Linked DNA regions of Homo sapiens: all the other regions are linked to region 3. Evidence: promoter capture Hi-C in human tissues and cell types (Jung and others, 2019). All regions are on one chromosome and are shown on one strand. The core of a region is centred on a gene start or on the middle of the fragment in contact, and the rest is flanking DNA. Distances in the headings are between cores, read along the strand shown.

What was found. Contacts are between HindIII fragments. The study calls those that stand out against the background at their distance.
Region 1: a contact is called between a fragment that was not itself captured here and the fragment with the promoter of TIMP3 in region 3, in 1 of the 25 tissues and cell types used here (dorsolateral prefrontal cortex).
Region 2: the fragment with the promoter of SYN3 here is called in contact with the fragment with the promoter of TIMP3 in region 3 in 1 of the 25 tissues and cell types used here (mesendoderm cells).

What each region holds. Positions count from the first base shown.
Region 1 is chr22:33,210,924-33,214,789 of GRCh38, reverse strand. It overlaps LOC124905106 (a long non-coding RNA gene), which reads left to right. Exons shown (of 2, transcript XR_007068071.1): 2 at 478-648. It also overlaps a transcript of LARGE1 not described here. Among named protein-coding and RNA genes, the nearest start is that of LARGE1-AS2, 49 kb to the right of the region's middle. The HindIII fragment of the contact is 5,851 bases long and covers 1-3,866 here.
Region 2 is chr22:33,056,364-33,059,985 of GRCh38, reverse strand. It overlaps SYN3 (synapsin III), which reads left to right and starts at 1,605. Exons shown (of 14, transcript NM_003490.4): 1 at 1,605-1,694. The HindIII fragment of the contact is 13,516 bases long and covers 1-3,622 here.
Region 3 is chr22:32,799,894-32,803,740 of GRCh38, reverse strand. TIMP3 (TIMP metallopeptidase inhibitor 3) reads right to left here and starts at 2,036. Exons shown (of 5, transcript NM_000362.5): 1 at 1,619-2,036. The coding sequence starts at 1,739. The region is part of intron 6 of SYN3 (synapsin III); the gene reads left to right. The HindIII fragment of the contact is 19,598 bases long and covers 1-3,847 here.

The DNA of each region.
Region 1 (3,866 bases), core at 238-2,737, 410 kb before region 3:
GTTGGCGAAAACAGATAATTTCATGTGAAAGACCGGGCTCCCTCGAAAATGGAACCTGAAGGAAAATCCTGCATGCACACACTTCAGTAGGGAACCATTCTCTCAGCCAAGTAGGTATGAGATTAAAGAGAGAGTGTGGCAAGGAAGGAGGCAGAGCAGATAGAAGAGTGTGCTGGCGACTGGCCACAGCTTTGTAAAGGGCCAGGAGATTCCTTGGTCTCTGAGGTCGTTCTCAGAAGGGCTGCTTAAATGACTGTGTCTCCAAATACATGATGGGAAAAAGAAAGGAGAGGAATTTTTTTATTTGAGCACCTTTCTCACACTGACCAAACATGCCTATTATTTATATATTTTGCTCCCCCCGGCCCCCCAAATTTGTATGTTGAAGTAGTAGACAGGACTTTAAAGGGCAATTAAGTTAAGATTAGTTCTTTAGGTTGGGCCCTAATCCAGTATTACTTGTGTCCTTATAAGAAGAAGAGACGAGGACACAGATACACAAAGAGAACCCATCTGAAGACACAGGGAGAAGATGGCCATCTACAAGTGAAGAAGAGAGACCCCAGAAGAAAGGAACCATGTAAACACCTTGATCTTGGACTTGTAGCCTCCAGAACTGTGAGAAATAAATTTCTACTGTTTAAGCTACTCAGTTTGTGGCATAGGTACACCTTGAAGACATTGGAGATTCCATTCCTGACCATTGCAATAAAGAAGGTGGATCATGAGGTCAGGAAATCAAGACCACCCTGGCTAGTACGGTGAAACGCTGTCTCTACTAAAAATATGAAAAATTAGCCAGGCGTGCTGGCGGGCGGCTGTAGTCCCAGTTGCTCAGGAGGCTGAAGCAGGAGAATGGCGTGAACTTGGGAGGCGGAGCCTGCAGTGAGCGGAGATTGCGCCACTGCACTCCAGCCTGGGGGACAGACAGAGTGAGACTCCGTCTCAAAAAAAAAAAGAAAAAGAAAATATCATAATAAAGTGAGTCACACAAAGTTTTTGGTTTCCCAGTACATATAAAAGTAATGTTTACAGTATACTGCAGTCTGTTTAGTTTGCAATTGCATTATATTTTAAAAAGACAAAGTATAGACCTTAATTTACATATACTTTAAATTTTTATTGCCCCCAAAATGTTAACAATTATCTGAACCTTCAGTGAATCATCGTCTTTTTGCTGGCGGATGATCTTGCCTTGATGATTGATGGCTGCTGACTGACAGGTTGGCGGTTGCTGGAAGCTGGGGTGGCTGTGGCAATTCGTTAAAATAAGACAACAATGAAGTTTGCCTCATTGATCAACTCATCCTTTTATGAAAGATTTTCTGCAGCATGAGATGCTGTTTGATAGCGTTTTATCCACAGTAGAATTTCTTTCAAAATTGGAGTTGATCCTCTGAAACCCTGCCACTGCTTCATCATTTAGGTTTATGTAATATTCTAAATACCTCGTTGTCATTTTAACAATGTTCACAGCAGCTTCACCATGGGTAGATTTTATCTCAAGAAACCACTTTCTTTGCTAATGCATAAGAAGCAACGCGTTATCCATTCAAGCTTTATTATGAGGCTGCAGCAACTCCATCTCTTCACACGCTACTTCTAATGCTAGTTCTCTTGGTATTTCCACAGCTGCAACTCCTTCTTCCACTGAAATCTTGAACCCCTCAAATTCATCCCTGAGGGTTGGAATAAACTTCTTCCAAACTCCTATTAATGTTGATATTTTGATCTCCTCCCATGAATCACAAATATTCTTTTTTTTTTTTTTTCAGACGGAGTCTTGCTCTGTCACCCAGGCTGGAGTGCAATGGCACGATCTCGGCTCACTGCAGACCCCGCCTCCTGGGTTCACACCATTCTCCTGCCTCAGCCTCCCAAGTAGCTGAGATTACAGGTGCCCACCACCACGCCCAGCTAATTTTTTTGTATTTTTAGTAGAGACGGGGTTTCACCGTGTTAACCAGGATGGTCTCGATCTCCTGATCTCATGATCCACCTGTCTCGGCCTCCCAAAGTGCTGGGATTACAGGCATGAGCTACCGCACCCGGCCCACAAATATTCTTAATAGTATCTAGAACGGTGAATCCTTTCCAGAAGATTTTCAATTTACTTTGCCCAGATTCATCAGAGGAATCACTGTCTATGGCAGCTATAGCCTTATGAAATGTATTTCTTATTTAAGAAGACTTGAAAGTTAAATGTACTTCTTGATTCATGGGCTGCAGAATGGATGTTGTGTTAAAAGACATGAAAGCAACATTAATCTTGTACATCTCCCTCAGAACTGTTGCATGACCAGAAGCATTGTGAATGAGCAGTAATATTTTGAAAGAAATATTTTTTCTGAATAATATTTCTCAACACTGGGCTTAAAATATTCAGGAAACCATGCTGTAAATGATATGCTGTTATCCAGGCTTGTTGTTCCATTTATAAAGCACAGACAGAATAGATATGGCATAATTCTAGGGGCCCTAAAGTTTTTGGAATGGTAAATGAGTACTGGCTTCTATTTGAAGTCACCACCTACATTAGCCCCTCACAAGAGAGGCAGCCTGTCCTTTGAAGCTTTGAAGCCAGGCATTGACTTCTCTCTAGCTAAGAAAGTCCTAGATGGCTTTTTTTTTTTTAACCTTGAAAATCTGTTGTTTAGTGGAGCCACCTTCATCCGTGATTTTAGCTGGATCTTCTGGATAACTTCAGCTTCTCCATCAGCACTTGCTGCTTCACCTTGCACTTTTGGTGTTATGGAGACAACTTCTTTCTTTAATCCTCATGAACCAATCTCTGCTAGCTTCAAACTTCCTTCTGCAGCTTCCTCACCTCTCTCAGCCTTCACAGAATTGAAGAGAGTTAGGGTCTTGCCCTGGATTAGGCTTTGGTTTAAGGGAATGTTATACAGCTGGTTTGATCTTTATTCAGATCACTCAGACTTTCTCAATATCAGCAATAAGGCTGTTTGGCTTTCTTATCATGTGTGCATTCACTGGAGTCACAGCACTTTTTTTTCTTTGAGACAGAGTCTCACTCTGTTGCCCAGGCTGGAGTGTAGTGGCGCGATCTCGGCTCACTGCAGCCGCCGTCTCTGGGGTTCAAGCAATTCTCGTGCCTCAGCCTCCCGAGTAGCTGGGACTACAGGTGTGTGCCACCACGCCCGGCTAATCTTTTGTATTTTTAGTAGAGACGGGATTTCAGCATGTTAGCCAGGCTGGTCTCGGACTCCTGACCTCAGGTGATCCATCGCCTCGGCCTCCCAAAGTGCTGGGATTACAGGTTTGAGCCACCACGCCCAGCCTCACAGCACTTTTAATTCCCTTGAAGAACCTTTCCTTTGTGTTCACAGCTAGGCTGTTTGGGACAAGAGGCCTAGCTTTTGGCCTATCTCCACTTTCAACATGTCTTCCTCACTAAGTGTAATCATTTCTAGCTTTTGATTTAAAGTGAGAGGTGTGTGTCTTCCTTTCACTGGAACACTTAGAGCCTTTTAAGTGTAACACTTGTAGCATTATGAATTGTCCTTATTTCAATACTATTGTGTCTCAGGAGGCCCGATGAGGAGGAGAGAGATGAGGGAATGACCAGTCAGAACATTTATAGATTAAGTTCTCTGTCTTACATGGTTCATGGAGCCCCGAAACAATTACAAATCACAAATCGCAGATCACTGTAACAGATATAATAATAATGAAAAAGTTTGAAATACTTGAGAATTACCAAAATGTGACACAGAGACACAAAGTGAGCACGTGCTGTTGGAAAAATAGCACCGATAGACTTGCTCAATGCAGGGTTGCCACAAACCTTCGATTTATAAATAACACAACTATCTTCAAAGTTCAATAAAGCAAAGTGCGGGAAAACG
Region 2 (3,622 bases), core at 356-2,855, 260 kb before region 3:
TAGTACCATTACTCCACAGTGGCTCAAGCTAAACACCTAGGAGATTTTCTTCTTTCATCCCTTTACGTCAACCCCTGTCATAGTCTATTTTGTGCCAATATAACAGAATATCACAGACTGGGTAATTTATAAGGAACAACAATTTATTTAGCTCATGGCTCTGGAGGCTGGGAAGTCCAAGATTGAGGGGCTGCATCTGGTAAGGGCCTTCATGCTGAGTCACCCCATGGCACAAGGCAGAACAAGAGAGCAGCAGAGGGGTGGGGAGAGGGCCACTCCTGGCATTAATGGAATCACCTCTTAAAGGTCCCACCTCTCAACACTGTTGCATTGGGGATTAAGTTTCCAAGATATGAACTTTGGGGAACATATTTAAACCATAGCATCCCCTAAATCCAGCCTAATCCATCATCAAGCCTTCCTGTGCTACTTTTGACACACATTGCAGGAGGTCCACCTTTTCCGTATCTTGCTGTCACCACCCTGGTCTTCATCACCATAATCTCTTGCCTGAATTGTTCCCTCCAGATTGATATGACAAAGCCCTGACCCTCACGGTGGCCTACAAGGTTCTGGGTGATGGTGATTCCACACTAGTCTACCTCTCTGGCTGTAACCCACTCTCCCCTTGCTCACCTCACTCAGCCACCCTGGGGGCCAGTTCCAGCTTCAGAACCATGCATCGGCCGACCCCTCTGTCAGCAATGCTCTTGCTTCAGCCCTGGAATCGTTTTTGTCCTCCAAGTATCCAATATCACAAGCGGCCCGGAGACCACCCTAGGTATAGCAGTCCTAGACCCCTTTCTTTTTCTTTTCTTTTTTTTGGAGACGGCATCTAGCTCTGTTGCCCAGGCTGGAGTGCAGTGGCTCTAACTCGGCTTACTGTAACTTCCACCTCCCGGGTCCAAGCAATTCTGCCTCAGCCTCCCGAGTAGCTAGGACTACAGGTGAGGGCCACCATGCCCAGCTAATTTTTGTATTTTTAGTAGAGACGGGGTTTTATCATCTTGGCCAGGCTGGTCTTGAACTCCCGACCTCGTGATTCACCTGCCTCGGCCTCCCAAAGTGCTGGGATTACAGGCGTGAGCCACAGGCACCCAGCCGACATTCTCTTGTTTTTTTCGTTTGTTGTATATAACCTACCCCCACCTCCACCCCATGCAAAGTCCACGAGGACGATAGACTTTGTCTTGTTCCCTGTTGCATCCTGGCCCTAGGGCCTAGCCCACAACCTGGGACATTTCCTGACAAGGGGCCCTGGTTTCTCTGAGGTGCCACCTGAGGTCCGGGAGGTCAGCTGACTTTCCCAAAGGTGGATTCCAAGGACACTGCATTCTTCGCACTCCCCGAGGGGCGTCTAGACACTCCTGGGACCCAGAATTATTAGCTAACTGGGCTCCTGAGTCCGGTGAGAGCTCAGAGTCTAGAAGCAACTTTCCCTGCCTGGAGAGGTGAACCCAGCAAGGCGTTGGGGAGAGGCGTGGGCGAGGGAGTGGGCGCGGGTGGGCGGGGCCGTCCGGGGGCCTCGTTGCCCGAGCCAATGGGGCGCCGCGGCGCGGGGAGGCCGGGCCGCCGGGCGGGGGCGCTCGCGCGCGTTGAGGGGCAGAGGCTGAGCTCCCGGGACCCGGAGCGGATCGACTGGCGGGCGCCGCGCCGAGGCACCACCGGGCGCCGAGTTCCTGGCGGCTCGCACGGTAAGCGGCGCGGCGCCGCAAAGTAGACTTTGTGGGGTTTCTGACAGCCGGGAGACCCCACCTCGAGCGGGGGCTGCTGGTGCGTTCTCGCGTCGGGCTGCGTCCCCTGGAGCTCCGGCTCTGTGTCCGCGGGATGCGGGCGCACGGAGGGGCAGGGAGGGAGGCAAGGAGCCGCGCACCACGGTGTCTCCCCAGGCTGCCGCTGCCGGGGCCCTGGGCCGGTCCCTGGGACAGACAGATCGGCGTGCGGGGGCCGTCTGCCGGGCCCGGGAGCCGGGGGCGCGCAAGACTGTGGATCCTAAGACTGCCTCCACCCAGCGCCCGGCCCGGGGAAGAGCTTGCGGGAAACCAGGAACCGCAGCGGCCGGACCTCTGCTCTGCGCCGGCTCCTAGGACCTGCCTTAGGTCCCCAGACCCCTCATGACCTGTTGCCTTGGGTTTGGGAGGTCAGGTTTGTCATGCCATTTCCGATTTCCAGTCATCCTGGGGGCAGGATGAAATTTCAGAGTGGTTTCCTGGCCAAGCTAGAAGCAGAGAATAGCTATGGATACAGCACCTCGTGTATCTATCCAGCACTTACTTGGCTTTTTCTGAGTGCCAGGAACTGTGCCAAGCCCTAGCAGCATGAAGAATGGCCTTTGGGGAGCTTCTGGGGCTAAGAGGGACAGTAGGAGGAGCAATTGCAGTGCAGGGTAGTGCGGAAGACTCGAGATGGAGAAGAGGACGGTGAGGAAGCCAGGAAGGTTTCAGAGAGGAGGTGAGCATTGACTGGAAGTCGGAGGTTTTGCCAGGCTGAAAAGTGTGTTGGGACTGTGAGTTGATAGGGAGCAGGAATTCCAGGTGGGTTTTCTTGTGTAAAGGTAAAGAAACTGAAAAGGTCCGGTGTCCTGACCTAGCACATCAGATAATTCTACAGCAGATAATGGAGTAGGACCGGGTCTTGCTGTAGGTAGGAAATGAGCTCTCGACATGGCAGGAAGCTAAAACCTGCACAGACCTTAAAGTGCAGCCTTAGAATATTTAGAATTTTATCCTGGAATGAAGGAGGGCCGTGGAAGAATTCTGATCAGTGATCAGGTCCCTCTGGCAGCTCTGGGGACAATGGATGGAGGCCGGAGCATCAGAAAGCTGGTAAGTTGTAGTTGTTTTCTGGTCCTTGGCTGCAAATACTCTTCCCTGCTTAAGGGAGCCCCCTCTGCCCGGGAGCCCTGCTCCCTGGCTTCTGGACATGGATTCAGGCAAAGAGATGCTGCCCGTGTAATGCTTGCTTCTGCAGCCTGCACATCATTTTGATATTGTTTCTGGAGCCTGTGACCTCAGTCTTGTCATCAGGCCTCTGAAGGGTGCCTCTGCTCTTCTTTTCTCATCTTCAAGCCCTCTGTGTGCCCTTCCCCTCTGCCTGGGCTCCCCTTTCTGTTTCACAGAGATCCAGTCTCAGCCATTGGAGGCAAGGCTGTGTGTAGATTGGTGTAGTAGAAAGAACAAGGGCTCGCTGGGAAATCAGACCAGAAAGTCACTTTAGCCATAGGCTTTGGGGACATTAGCAACCTTCATGAACCTTCTTTTTCTGATTTAAAAGGAAATCATTGTACTCACCTGTCATGGTTTGGGTTCCCTGGAAAAAGACTTGGCGCTTCTGAGATTTTTGTGCAGATAAGGGAAGCAGAACTGGGCAGAGGGAGATGTTGATCTATGGTGCAGTGCAAGAGAGGTCTCAATCCCTCCCATGAGACAAAGAGACGAGGCCTTTGAAGCTTAATGTTGATCAGCCAGTGGGTGCAGGCTGGTCCTAGGGAGGGAGCTAGGATGTCCCTTCAGCAGGACAGTTCCTGACTAGGGACTCACCTGGGAGCTGGGGTAACCAACACTCTGGCAGCTGGACATGGGGAAGTCATGAGTGTCTTGGTCTTGGAGGGGGAGTTGAGCAT
Region 3 (3,847 bases), core at 787-3,286:
ATCCTGCTGGGCAAAACCAGAACTCAGCTGCAGCAGCAACTCCCCACACTAATCAGGTGGGAATGTTACCAACTGGGATGAGGAGGGAAAGGGTAAGTGGAATGTGGGTGGAGGTGGAGGAGGGAGGAAAACCCTCCCCAGTCTTCAGGCTGCCCAAAAGGATCTTTCTAAGCAATCCACAAATCCTGGGCCAGCTGGGTTCCCCCAGGAGAGGGGAGGATGTACCATGCAGGCCCCAGGGAGCCTCTTACAAGGGTGACCTCAGGTCACACAAACACCCTCAGCTGCCAACTGCACTGACATTCTGGTCACCACACCCCCACTCTGACCTCTAGGCTCAGCCCAGCCCACCAGCAGTGCCCCTCCCGGCCCTCACTGCCTCCCCTGCCAAGCTCCTACCTCCTCCCCCTCCTCACCACAACACGCTGGTAGAGTCCCTCACCCAAGACTCAGTGGAAAATTTCCTTCTCCTTTATGACTGTACTTAAAACACACACGCTCCATTCTTCACCTCTGAATCGACACAGGCAGAGGGCGGCAAGGCTGTCCCACCCCACCGCCCAGCCCAGCCCAGTGCACACACACACACTCTCCCAGCAGAGCCACTGGACTTGCACGCTTTATGGGCTGGAAAGGAGGAGAGAGATGTTTCCCAGATGCCACTCCACCTTTAGCCATCCAAACACAAGTGTCCCAAACACTCCCAGACAAGCCTCCCAGGATGCTCTCGGGGCCCTCCATACACACTAAGGAGTAGGAGGTCTCTTTACAGGGTCTCTCTACTCAAGACACTAAGTCCAGTCTGGAACTGTCACCGTGATGTGACCCTTGGCAGGTTTGTTCTTTTGGTGACAAATCTGTTTTCCACTACCCATTCTCCCCCTCCCCACACACATTCAAGGGGGAAAAAAATAGCCTTCCTGTGAATTTTCACAGCTATGTGGTGAGTGACCCCTCGCACCTTCTGCTGGCTATCAACACTCTCAAACACAGTGCCTCCAGGGCGTGGGTCAATGCCACAGCTTTCTCCTCATTTTCCCCCTTAAATCCACCCAAACTTGGCAGTCCCAGAAGCTCGGTTAGCGCTTGCCTGGGAAGCCTGCAGCTGGGTTGGGTCTCAGTGAAAAGAATGAATTTCATAGGCGCAGGAGATGATGCAGACTCGGAGTACTCCAAGTTTCTCCTGCAACTTTCCGTGCACATGGCGGGCAACTTTTTTTTTTTTTTTTAACTATTCAATTTCCCAGCACTTTAGTTAGCATTCCAAGTTTTGGGAACCCTTTCCCCACCCTTCTCTTCTAGCCCTTCCTCCGTTAGTAGTGAATGGGGACATTTTCCAGATGTCAAAAGGACCGGTAGGAACCTCACGACCTAAGTTAGGAAAGCAAAGGCGGCCAGGGGCTCCCTCAGCCACTGTGAGTTTCCTCTGCAGGGCATCTTCCCCTCTCAGCTATGCCAGCGCCCCCGCCCAAGGACATCGAGTTTCTCCACTCCGCCCCAACCCCGTCTGCCCCTCTCCTGGGGCAGAGGAAAGGAGTGGGGCTCGCCCTGCCTCCCTAAGCAGCGCTGCAGTCCTGGCTGCAGCGTGGGGCTCGGGCGGGGCACCAGGAGCGCTTACCGATGTCGGAGTTGCAGAAGGCGTCCTGGGGGTGGCTGGGCGAGCATGTGCACGCCTCGGCGCCCCAGTCCCCCAGGCTCCAGCTGCCCAGGAGCACGATGAGCCCGAGCCAAGGGGTCATTGCCGCTGCTGCCGCCGCTGCCGGGGCTGCTGCTCGCCTCTCCAAAGTTGCCGTGCGCGCCGCCGGCGGGGCTGCTGCAGCCCGAGCTCGCTCGCCCGCCGGGCCGTGCGGGGCAACCTTGGCCTCCGGCGCGCTGCCCTCCGAGTGCCCGGCGGGACGGGATGGGGCGCAGCGAGGCTGCCTCGGCGCTGGCGCAGGACTCGGCGGGCGGCCTCCCGGCGAAGGAGCAGGAGCTGGAGGAGCAAGAGGAGGAGGAGAAGCCGTCTGAGCGCCCGCCGCCTGCCTGCTGCCCGCTCTGCGCCGCTGCCTGGGCGGCCGAGTGATATAGCGCTGGGCCCCCGGGGACCCCGCCTCGGGCTGTTGGGGCCCGCCCCCTCAGACCAATGGCAGAGCCGCATTACCTCATCGGCCCTCCAAAAAGGGGGCGGGGCCGGGGGCAAGGGGTAACGGGGCGGGGCCGCCCCCGGATCGTTCAGATCCTTATAGGGAATAATGCCGCCGTGGGCACGCGAGTGGGTGGGCTGGGGCGCGCCCGGGACCGGTGCTTGCCGCTGGGTCCTCGGAGCGGAGCCCTCGTGCCCCTTCTCGTCTGCGCCCTGGCCCCACGCCCACCTGGGCCACTGGGTGTCTCTGACCCAAACCAGAACCAACTAACACCCACCCACCCCAGCAGGACCGCTTCCACAGGTGAGGGGTGGCCATGTCCTAGAGACCTTGACTGTGCTTGGTGGAACCAGCGGGGGAATGCTAACTGCTACCCCTCCAGTTTCTCTGGAGAGAGCAGGCACAGAGGAGAAAGACCCAAACTCTCTCTCTTTCTCTCTCTCTCTGGTTCTTACTCTCTGGGATATGGGAAGCCATCTGCTGTTTGCAGCTGGCTATGATATATGATAGAAGACTGTTTTCTGTGCTCTCCCAGAGCAAACGGGGTTCTGTATTCATTCAACAAACACGGTTCAGGATGCTGGGTTAAGCAACACAAAGCCCTTGCCCCCGTGGACATCCATGAATGCACAGGGTGATTTTCTGTGATGCTAGGGCTATGAAGAAAACAAAACAGAGTTCTGGGTTGGACATGACTGGGGAGGGCCTGCTCTCTCTGCGATAGTAAGGGAAGGGCTCCCTGAAGTGCCATCCTCGCTGAGAAGTGGACAAAGACAAGGATCAGCTCTGGGGCAAGCCACAGGAGAGAGGTACCAGGCAGGGGGAACAGCAAGTGCAAAGACCCTGGGCATGTTTGAAAGACAGAAAGTAGAAAGGCAAGAGGAAGTGGTTCCCTGCCCATGGCTGACAGAGCTCCACCCTTCAGCAAGGGATTTGGGGGTGAGCTGATCCAAAACTGTAGTAAAACCAGGAGAACGATCCAGGATCCTAGACGACTAGCTATAATAGATGATTGCAGATAACTAACACAATTACTATCCTTATTATTGACATCTTGATTCTGCTTTGTATTTTTAAAAGCAGGATTCTGTATCTCACCGTATTATAGCTCTCACAATAATCTTTGTGGGTAGGAAAAGCAAGCACAAGTATCACTCCCACTTTCCAGATGAGGAACCGGCACAGAAAGATGGGATGATTGGTGGCCAGCCAGGAACTCGTCACCCCTTTCCACTGCTCCTTCCCATCTGAAGAGAGACATGCATTTCCCTGAACGTCAGCAGCTGTTCCATCTAACTGCAAATGGCCATTTGCAGCTGGGATCTTCCATCTTTCTACACTTTTGTCTCTTTCCCTTTCTCTTCCGCTTCATCCTGTTAGAAATGCCACAAGTTTGGAACAAATAGAAACAGGGAGAAATGCAAGTTCAGCTTCTTTCTCAGAACTCCTCTGTTTACATCTCAGACAAGTGACATTGGGACAGCAGAGGCCGAAGAATTCGTGAGAGATGGTATTTCCAAGAACATTTTTGAAACTCCTTTTTCCCCTTTGAGCACTTTAGCCATAGGAAAGGGAAACCAGTTTCCACATCTTTTTGACTTGTCCCCTCCACCCAGCTTTAAAAACCTTCCCTGCCTTCACTCTAACTGTGGCCTAACTCGTAGAGATGTTTCTGTCTCTCGATGTTTTTCTAGCACTGTTTTCATTGTTTTATGGGGTATGAT